Regions from separate parts of the Homo sapiens genome. Here region 2 is linked to region 1. The links are contacts of gene promoters, found by promoter capture Hi-C in blood cells and fetal thymus (Javierre and others, 2016). All regions are on one chromosome and are shown on one strand. Each heading gives the region's core, a stretch centred on a gene start or on the middle of the fragment in contact. The rest is flanking DNA. Distances are from core to core; before and after follow the strand shown. Region 1 holds the start of C16orf87 (chromosome 16 open reading frame 87). Region 2 overlaps ABCC11 (ATP binding cassette subfamily C member 11).

Evidence for each region. Contacts are between HindIII fragments. The CHiCAGO score rates a contact against its expected background, and 5 or more counts as called.
Region 2: a fragment that was not itself captured here is called in contact with the fragment with the promoter of C16orf87 in region 1 in 1 of 17 cell types (M0 macrophages); the score reaches 7.2 in M0 macrophages.

The regions. Positions count from the first base shown.
Region 1 is chr16:46,828,501-46,833,993 of GRCh38, reverse strand. C16orf87 (chromosome 16 open reading frame 87) reads left to right here and starts at 2,814. Exons shown (of 4, transcript NM_001001436.4): 1 at 2,814-2,910. The coding sequence starts at 2,845. RefSeq lists a silencer at 2,468-3,117. The HindIII fragment of the contact is 5,874 bases long and covers 1,689-5,493 here.
Region 2 is chr16:48,184,266-48,189,000 of GRCh38, reverse strand. ABCC11 (ATP binding cassette subfamily C member 11) reads left to right here. Exons shown (of 30, transcript NM_001370497.1): 21 at 1,574-1,800; 22 at 1,911-2,048; 23 at 4,375-4,561. Among named protein-coding and RNA genes, the nearest start is that of ABCC12, 31 kb to the right of the region's middle. RefSeq lists a silencer at 269-563. The HindIII fragment of the contact is 4,577 bases long and covers 1-3,790 here.

The DNA.
Region 1 (5,493 bases), core at 1,565-4,064:
AACCTACTCTCCCTATACTCTATAAATGGAATAACAAAGTCTGGATGACAGCAAATCTGTCATGGTCTACTAAATATTTCAAGCCCCCTGTTGAGACCTACTGCTTGGAAAAAAAGATTCTTTTCAAAATATTATTACTCATTGACAATGCACCTGGTTACCTAAGGGCTCTGATGGAGGTTTAAGAAATTAATGTTATTTTCATGCCTGCTAATCCATTCTGTAACCTATGGATTAAGGAGTAATTTCGACTTTCAAGTCTTATTATTTCAGAAATACATTTTGTAAGGCTATTGCTGCCATAGATAGCAATTCCTCTGATGGATCTGGGCAAAGTCAATTGAAAACCTTCTGGAAATGATTTACCATTTTAGATAGTACTAAGAACATTCATGACTCATGGAAGCAAGTCAAAATATAAACATTAACAGGAGCTTGGGAGGAGTTGATTACAATCCTCATGGATGACTTTGAGGGGTTCAAGACTTCAGTGGAGGATGTAATTGCAAATGCGGGACACACAGCAGGGTCTCACTCTGTTGTCCAGGCTGGAGTGCAGTGGCACGATTGTGGTTCACTACAGCCTCGACCTGCTGGGCTCAAGCATTCCTCCCACCTCAGCCTCCCAAGTAGCTGGAACTACAGGTGCACATCATGCCCAGCTAAGATTTGTATTTTTTTGTGAAGATGAGGTTTCACTATGTTGCCCAGGTTGGTCTTGAACTCTTGAGCTCAAGCAATCCTCCTGTCTCAGCCTCCCAAAGTGCTGGGATTAATGTTGCAATCTCATGATAAAACTTGAACAGATGAGGAGTTACTTCTTACGAAGGAGCAAAGAAAGTGGTTTTTTGAGATGGAATCTCCTGGGGAAGATTCTGTGAACATAGTGGAATGGCAACAAAGGATTTAGAATATTACATAAATATTAGTTGATAAAGCAGTGGCAGGGTTTGTGAAGATTAACTCCTTTTTTTTTTTTTTTTTTTTTTTGAGACAGGGATTTTCTCTGTCACCCAGGCTGAAGTGCAATGGCGCAATCATGGTTCACTGCAGCCTTGACCTCCTGGGCTCAGTGGATCCTCCAACTCAACCTCTTGAGTAGCTGGGACTACAGGCATACGCTGTCACCACATGGCTATTTTTTAATTTTTTGTGGAGACGGGTTTCACCATTTTGCCCAGGATTTTTAGCCCAATTTTAACATCAACGTGTGTACACTGTTTTTTAGACATAATGCTATTGTACTTTTAATATATTACAGTATAGTGGAAACATGTTTATTATATACACTGGGAAACAACAACAAAAAATTGAGTGTGGCTCTCTTTTTTGCAATGGCCTGGAACTGAACCCCCAGTCCCTCCAAGGTATGCCTGTAAATGGACCAAACAGGAAGCAATTTCGTGGGTTTCATATTAAAAGCTTTAAACATTTATATAACTGTTATTTATACAAAGTGTGCTTACAGGCATTTACTATGTAAAATTGTAACTCATAACTTTGCTTTAGTTAACAATTGTTGAATAAAAAGTTATCAGTGGAATAGCCAGTCTCTGTAATAAATGCATATTGGTAAATTTTCTCTGAGCCAAGTGTACAGTTTGTAAATTTTCTTTCTGTTATGTTTGTTCTGATTGTTTATTAAGTATAACTTTGGGTCTGTCAAATTAAATATTTAAAAGTAAGCTTACGTTTTGCATAGTTGTTTTTAAATTTCACTTTTTCTTTCTTTTTCTTTTTTTTGAGACGGAGTCTCGCTCTGTCGCCCAGGCTGGAGTGCAGTGGCCACAATCTCGGCTCACTGAAGCCTCAATCTCATAGGCTCAAGCGATCCTCCCACCTCAGCCTCTCTACTAGCTAGGACTCCAGGCATGGGCCACCACGCTCAGCTAATTTTTAAAAATCTTTTACTTTTTGTAGAGATGGGGGTCTCGCTATGTTGCCCAGGGTGGTCTGGAACTCCTGGGCTCAAGAGATCCGCCCTCCTCGGCTTCCCAAAGTGCTGGGATTACAGGCGTGAGCCATTGCGCCCAGCCTCGAATAATTTAATTTTAATGTTAATTTAGTAAGTATCAGTCACGGACAGATTGGAAAAAGAAAAACATCTGATCCCTCATCTTGATAGTGAGTAGCACTGGTTTACACAGCTAGGCTGCTCCTTGAAGGCTGACACTGCATTTTATTCAAATTTTCCTGACAGTGGGACTTAGGCAATTATATATTGAATAAATAAATGAATTTTCACTCTGCTGCTGGGTCCAGTGGTCTCATAAAATGTCTATCATAATTTCTCAATGATTAGCCTTGGTAACATCTACTTAAGTTTATTAAATGCCAGGATCCACGCTACGCCCTTCACCATTCATTCCCCAGCCTTCGCTCCCACGGTCTCTGTGGGGATGGGGCGTGCCCAGCACTACGGCCCGCCCTACCTATGCATTCGTTGGTCGAACTCGACGCCCGTTACTGCCGAGTCCCGCCCAGGCCTTGCCCCCTCGTAGTCGGCCAGGCCGAGAGGAGGCGTGGCCACTGCCGCGCCGGGGCGGTCTGGCGGAGGGGGGGGAGGTCTCCCCTCGTCTCGTGATACTCTGGGCGAGCTCGCGGGCGGGCTGTGGGTCGCGAGCCGCCGTGGGAGCGCGTGTCGCGGTCCCCAGGAGCCGCCGGCCGACGCTCCGCCCCGCCCCCTTGGCGCCCAGGTCCCGCGCGAGCTCGCGCACGCGCGCGCGCGCACCCGCCAGAGGCTTGTTTGAGGCCCGCGGGGACTGGGCGGGCGGAGGCCGGGCTGCCGAAGTGTGAGGGGAGGAGCCCGAGCCGTCGCTGCTGCCGCCGCTAAGGGAGAGGAGCATGTCTGCAACTCGAGCCAAGAAAGTGAAGATGGCCACCAAATCATGCCCCGAGTGCGACCAACAGGTGGGTGCCGGGGGCCGGGCGCGCGGGCGGGCGGCAGTGGCTTGGCGGCCGTTGTCTGTGGAGGGGGGCCTCGCCGGGCTCCCGGAGGCCGAGCGGTGGGCAGATCCTGGGGCCCGCCGGCGGCGGCGGGGATCCGGGGCCGGTCGGGCTGCACCGAGGGGTTTCCCGGGAAAAGCCCGGGGCCGTGGCCCGCCAGCGTCCACCTGGCGGCGGCCAGACGGCCAAGCCCCTTCTTGCTGTGTCCCGGCCACTGGAGGAGCGCGCCTTTGGTGGGCTCACCGGGCGGCTGTCTGGAGCCCCAGACTCTCCTCGCCGGCGGCGGTGACAGCGGTGGGAGCCTGCGGGCCGCAGCCCCGGCGAGAGTGTGCCGCACGCCCGCCTCCGAGGCCAGGCCCTAGCTCCGAGAACCCCTCCTGCGGCCGGGGCGGCTTTGTTCCCGGTTCCGACGGGTGCGGGGCTTCCCCAAAACGGCCCCTCCGCGACCGGGGCGGGCGCCTGAGTGGGACAAAGGGGGCCGCGTGTAATGATTTTGAGTTTCGGCGAATTTGGAGATTTTTTCCCCTTCCTCATCTATTTATTATATTTTTGCTGTGCAATCGCGAATCCTGCCTTTACATCGTTTTTAATGGGTCATGATTGAATAAAGCCCCTGTTTAAGCCCTTCCTCCTTTTTGGGCGCTCCTAACTTCCCCACCCCTCGCAGTATCCACTGTTACAAATTTGGCCTGTCTGCTTCCAGATCTGTATCCCTGTCTGTCTGAATGTCTCTGTGTGTCTCTCTCTCTCTCTCTCTCTCTCTCTCTCTCTCTCTCTCTGTCTGTCTCTCTCTATCTCTCTATCTCTCTATCTCGTTTCTTGAATTTGAAACGATTCCTTTCTACATTGAGTTCATGGTGTAATAGTTGTAATTTAAAACATCTCATTTCAGTGATCGCTGTGTTGAAGCGTGTCTCAATTCTTTACTGGAATAATAGACATTCCTTTAAGCCTTAACATCTAATGAGTTAAAACTACTTCAGTTAAAACCATTCGTAAGGCCCTCGTTTGTTACCAACATGTAGATCTGGGTGTGTTTTTTCCTTTTCCACTGAGTGGATTTTTTCAAAATGACTACCTTTCTCTCCTCCCCTCCCCCCACCGCCTTTTTTTTTTTTTAAATCAAGAGTAATTTGAAATGGCTGGAGACTTTTTAATAAGCTGATTTTAGTGCATTTTTCAAGGAGAATTCTTGTAGGTTTTTCAAATCTTTTAACAGAAAACATGTTACATGTTTTATTAAGTATCCTTTATGGGCTGTAGTAAAAATGCTTATCAGAAAAAGGTTGTGCAAGAAATACAGTGTAGGAGCTATACCAGTATGCAGTATAAAAACAGTTTAGTCATGTTTTCCAAAGAGTTACTTTCATTCTTACTACTGAACTAAATTTGTTAAATTTTGACAAAACTGGACTTTGCAATATGACTCTTTGCGGGAGATTATTTCAGTGTTTAAATCATTTCCAATTATTCCAGTTAATTGTGTAGAAGTGTAAGGTTTACATGGTATGCGTTATGCATTCCAATTTCTGTAAGGCACAAGTATTTGCAAATCCTGACTTTGTTCTAATTGGCATAAAGCAACCTTTTGGGAAAAATAGCCACTTTTTATGGCTATTTTTATATAAAAGAGCAAAGGATAATAAACTTATAGGAGTTTCTGAAAAACTGTTCAACAAAACAAGATCAGCGTTTTATTTGGAAAGATCACATTCATTTTGTTATACACCCCCTCCCCCATATTTATTCTTTCATATAAAATCAGCTTACCCAGCTTTGGCTGCCATAACAAAAGCATGATTATGTTCTGGTGAGGGCTCTCTTCTTGGCTTGCAGATGGCTGTCTTCTTGGTGTCCTCACATGGCAGAAAGAGGGTCAAGCTCTCTCCCTTTTCTTAAAAGGTCCCTAATCACATCATGAGGGCCCCACCCTCATGACTTAATTTAAACCTAATTCTCTCTCAAATGGCCCATCTCCAAATACCATCACATTGCGGTTAAGGCTTCAATATATGAATTTGGATGTCGAGGGGTGCATAATTCCACCCAGAGCAAACTAGTACATAATTTAATGAGTTGGTTTGTTTTGTCCTTTATTCCAAATACTTAAGTGAATGTAACATACATAAGGACTAATTAAAACTTTTGGTGATATGAACCTGATGTGAAAAAATAATGGATGAATTTTAGCTTTCTCATTATTTAAAAGTACTAGCTTCTTTTAGTTATAAGCCAGAATATGATTATAATCCAGAAAGCCATTTTCTAAACATTAGAATACTGCTATGATTCTAAGTTGCCTAAAAAAAATTAAATTCGAATTTAGGTATAGTTTATAAACATAAATGTAAAATCTTTAAATTTGAGATTTCCCAGTTGACTAGATTTACTTATGTGGGTGTGTAAGTTTGAAAAATGGGTACAGAGATCAGCAAAGAAGAAAAAGCTAGATTTTCAACTGCTTTGTAACATCTCCTTTGCAGGCTTCTATTGAACATATCATTCTAAAACATCTTAAACCACAGTCCTTTTCATTTTCAAGGGGTT
Region 2 (4,735 bases), core at 253-2,752, 1.4 Mb before region 1:
TCAGCAGTATCCATGCATTTGCGATGAGAGCAGCTACAGAGAACACTTCATGGCTCAAATAATTACATTTAGTAACCGTCAAAATGTCCTTCCCTCCTCTTTCTTTGAGTTTGGCTTTAATAAATGCCATTGGCTTCTATTCATTTCTACTTCTTGCATTATAGCTTGAGAAGTACATGGGGAAATGTAGGTGGTCATTTGGTCAGTGCCATGAACCTTTAAGAAATTGCCTTCTGTGAAGAGTGACTGTGCCAGGCTTGGGGAAGCCTCAGAAGGCCTAATTGGATCATGGTTTTGCCATTAACCACTTGCGTAATGAGTAAGTTACAGAGCCACTTCCTCTTCTGCAATCTTCAGTTTCCTCATCTGCAAAACAAGGACACCAAACTAAATGCTTTTGTTAGAGCCTACCTTGTGGTTTGACATGTCCTTTGATCTCCGAAAGGCCTCATGGCCACTGGCTGTTAGAGATCAACTTGCAGGTGCCACCCTCAAGAAGGGGGCAGTTAAGGCTAAATTTGATCCAAGGGTCCAAATCGTGTGCAACCCAGTAGGATTGCTGCTCCTAATCTTTGGCAGTCCTGAGTGAAAATGGTCCCATCTGTAGAAAATAATAAGAGCTGGTATTGGTAGAATGCCCTACTGGGGGTGATGGAGGGCAGGTAAACCCCAGACTGGGGCTTAGTCCATGAGGGTTCTTGGCTTTGCCCAGGAAAGAATTCAAGGGCAAGCCAGTGGTAGGGTAGAAGAAAACAGCTTTACTGAAGTGTCACTGTTGCAGTTCTGGCAGTGTTGCAGCTCTGTGACTGACCCTGCAGAGCAGGGCTACCCCGTAGGCAGTGTGCTGAGAGCTGCAGCTCAGGGCAGGTTTGCAGTCATATTTATACCTACTTTTAATTACATGTAGATTAAGGGACAGTTTATACAGAAGTTTCTAGGAAAAGGGTGGCAACTTCCAAGTCATCAAGTCATTGATGACCCAGAAAGAGGCGGTAACTCCTGGGTGTTGCCATGGGAATGGTAAACTGACACGACACACTGGTGGGCCTGTCTTATGGAAAGTGGCTTCCACCCCACCCCTGTTTTAGCTAGTCCTCAATTTGGTCTGGCGTTCAAACCCTGCCTCCAGAGTCAAGTCTCACCTCCTACCTCAGGGGCAGGCACTGCTCTGAGCATTTTTAATGTATTCTCTCTCTCTCTAATAGCTTTACAGGATATAATTCATATACCATACATTCAGCCTTTTAATTATACACTTCAGTGTTTAGTATATTTGAGGAGTTGTGTGATCCTCACTACAACTCTGTGAAGCATCGTTTTCATTCCCATTTCGCTAACGAGGACCTTGAGACTCAGAGGAACTCAGTACTTGCCCGAGGTCAGACAGCAGTAGGTGGAGGAGTCAGGTAGCCGTGGAGCCCATCCATGCTTTTAAATCATTGCTCTACATTGCCTGCCCTGGAGACCCCTGGGATCCGTGGCTCTTTAGAGTCAAGGGTAACAGGCATCTTCATCCAATCTTGAGCAGGGCCTGCAGCTTCTCTCATGGTCTGCGTTGATTTTGTCCCTGCAGGTTTTCCGCTGCCCCATGAGTTTCTTTGACACCATCCCAATAGGCCGGCTTTTGAACTGCTTCGCAGGGGACTTGGAACAGCTGGACCAGCTCTTGCCCATCTTTTCAGAGCAGTTCCTGGTCCTGTCCTTAATGGTGATCGCCGTCCTGTTGATTGTCAGTGTGCTGTCTCCATATATCCTGTTAATGGGAGCCATAATCATGGTTATTTGCTTCATTTATTATATGTGAGTAGGTTCTTTTTGCTTGTGACTTGGGGAGCAAGGCTGGGACCAACCCAGACTAGATGGTCCCAGAGGTGGACGGTCCAGGTCCCTTACCTCCACTGTCCATGCAGGATGTTCAAGAAGGCCATCGGTGTGTTCAAGAGACTGGAGAACTATAGCCGGTCTCCTTTATTCTCCCACATCCTCAATTCTCTGCAAGGCCTGAGCTCCATCCATGTCTATGGAAAAACTGAAGACTTCATCAGCCAGTGAGTCCTTCTGCTGCCATTTGAGAATGATGGAACCACAGGGGTGGTGGGGAGCAGGGAAAGAATGGAGCGTCTGGGAGTGGCATCATCTTCAAAAGCATCAGAGAGCACATTGTTCGATGGACGTATTTCTCTGAGCCTCCAGAACCTGCTGAACCATTCTTTCATTTATAAGAATGAAAAATGTAAATGATAGGAAAAATGTTTGTAAACTTTAAAGACCTTGTATATATTGTGTATATATATATGGACATATGTATACATACATTTAATGATAAGGTGCATTACTGTGCAAACACATCTTGCATTATGTTATTTCTTTCACTTCCAAACAAATATCTATCTTTAACAAAATAATGAGGAACAATAGCTTTCTAAATAATAGAACTTCCTTCACTACTCATGCCATAGATTTGCCCCCTAAATGTTGAAACAAACAAGCAAACAAGTCCTGTGATTGTTGTTGAGGTTTAATGGTGTAACACGAACTTATCTGTTTGTAGAGAATAATCAAGCACGGTCTTCACCTACAAGAAGTTCATAGTCTGGTGGAAAAAGGGAGAAACAGGCACATGTTTTTGTAATTATACGTGATTGAAGAAGGTAGATAGCATAAGAGAGGGGCAGATAAACTGCTTGGGAATTCAGAGGGGAAGGAGGTGGCCTGGGGGAATCAGATAAGGCTTTCGGGAGGAGGTGGCATCTGAGCTGGCCTTGAAGCCTGGGTAAGACTTGGGCACACATTTGGGAGACGGTATGTGCTCAGTTAGCTGGAATATTGGATTAATTGTGGCACCTGCTCTCTCAGTGGCATTATAGACCACTCAAGGTCTGTGCAGACTCTAGGACTGAGGGGATCCTGGAGCGGTGCATTCATTCAGCCCACACTGAGAACCCTGCCCCAAGGTATATACTAAGATAAGCAGATGAAGAGAGTCTGGAGGGATTGGAGCTGTTGTTGGGGAAGGTGTCAGAGAAAAGGACCCTGAGATGAAGTGTGGGTTGAGCTATGGAAATATGTGGGTAGGAGCTCTCCAGGCAGAGGGGACAGTAAATGCAAAGACCATGAGATGGGGGAAGTAGGTTTGAAGGATAGCAAGGTGGCTTGAGCACAGGGGCCACAGAGTGACCAGGGTCTGTTGTGTTTAATCTGGGAAGGCCTCAAGGTGGAGGTGACTCAATCAGTATAGAAAGGTAAGGTGGACAGAATTTGGAATGTCTTATGCAAAGGTTCAGAGGGTATGGACAGAGTGAGTCAGAAGGGCCACTCTGCTGGGGTGATAGCCCACTCAGATGGTAAGATGGTTTTAGTTGATGAGTAAATGAATATTTAATTTCAATAATCAAAGGTTTATTTGAATGTACTTTAGAAAAAATGCAACTAACATATCAAACCCATTATTTATATAATTTAAGGTTGTGATTAAAGTTTCTTTTAATATACATTCTCAAACAAAGCAAGTAAAATAATAATACTAATCAAATAACAGTACAGGTTGTGATTGACATGGAAAACTGTGATGGTGGTATGTGAAAATTGGAAATTGGTAGGTTTCTTGGTTGGAAGTGACAGAAAAAACTAATGCAAACTAGCTTAAAAATATGACTTAAATATGGCAAAATACTAACAATTGCTAAATTAGGTAGAGGGTATACAGATGTTCACGGAATAAACTTTTTAATTTCTTGGTACTTTAAAAAATTTTCATTAGAGGGTATACAGATGTTCATTAAATCAAGCTTTTAATCTCTTGGTACTTATAAAAATTTTCATAGCAAAAGGCTGGGGAGGAGGACTTGCTTAAAGTGAGGCTTAATCCAGAGACTCAGCTAATGTTCCCCGGGTGTCTCGGTTTTACTGCTCTGCCTTCCATGGTGTTATTTTACCTTTAAGCTCCCAGAGACCCTCTGGTGGCTCCAGGCTCCCCTCCTAGTAGCAGAATGGTAGTTTCAGATATCCCATCATCCCACTGAAAGGAATCACTCCCACACTCACTCACACGTCCTGGCATTTATTCACTCTCTGTGGCCAATTTGGGGTAACTCACCCATCCCTGAGTGAGTCACAGAGGTTAGGCGAGGAGCGCGTGCTAAGGATGGGCCTTAGCAGCAGAGCCTACTCCTCAATCTGGGTTAGGAGTCAGGTCAACTTCACCCAAATTCATGGCTGAGAAAGGGGTAGGGAGGAACTCCCCAAAGAAAAATCAGGCCCTGCTGCTGGGAGTGGGGAACTGGATGCTGGAGGAAGCAGCCGGTATCTACCCTGACCCGGGGAGACCCTAGGTCAGACAAACACATGGTTCTTAGTCTGTGCTTTCCTTCTCAGGTTTAAGAGGCTGACTGATGCGCAGAATAACTACCTGCTGTTGTTTCTATCTTCCACACGATGGATGGCATTGAGGCTGGAGATCATGACCAACCTTGTGACCTTGGCTGTTGCCCTGTTCGTGGCTTTTGGCATTTCCTCCACCCCCTACTCCTTTAAAGTCATGGCTGTCAACATCGTGCTGCAGGTGAGGGGGTGACTCTGTGTGGGCCCTCTCTGAGCTTTGCTCATCCTCTGCCTGTGGCTTCTGGGCAGACTCAGGGGGTCCTCAGGTGTTCAATGACACCTTAGGCTCTGGCCACGTGTGATCTTAGGAGCTATGTGCTTGGCCTTCTGAAATTGGTACTTTGCTCTGTTTCCT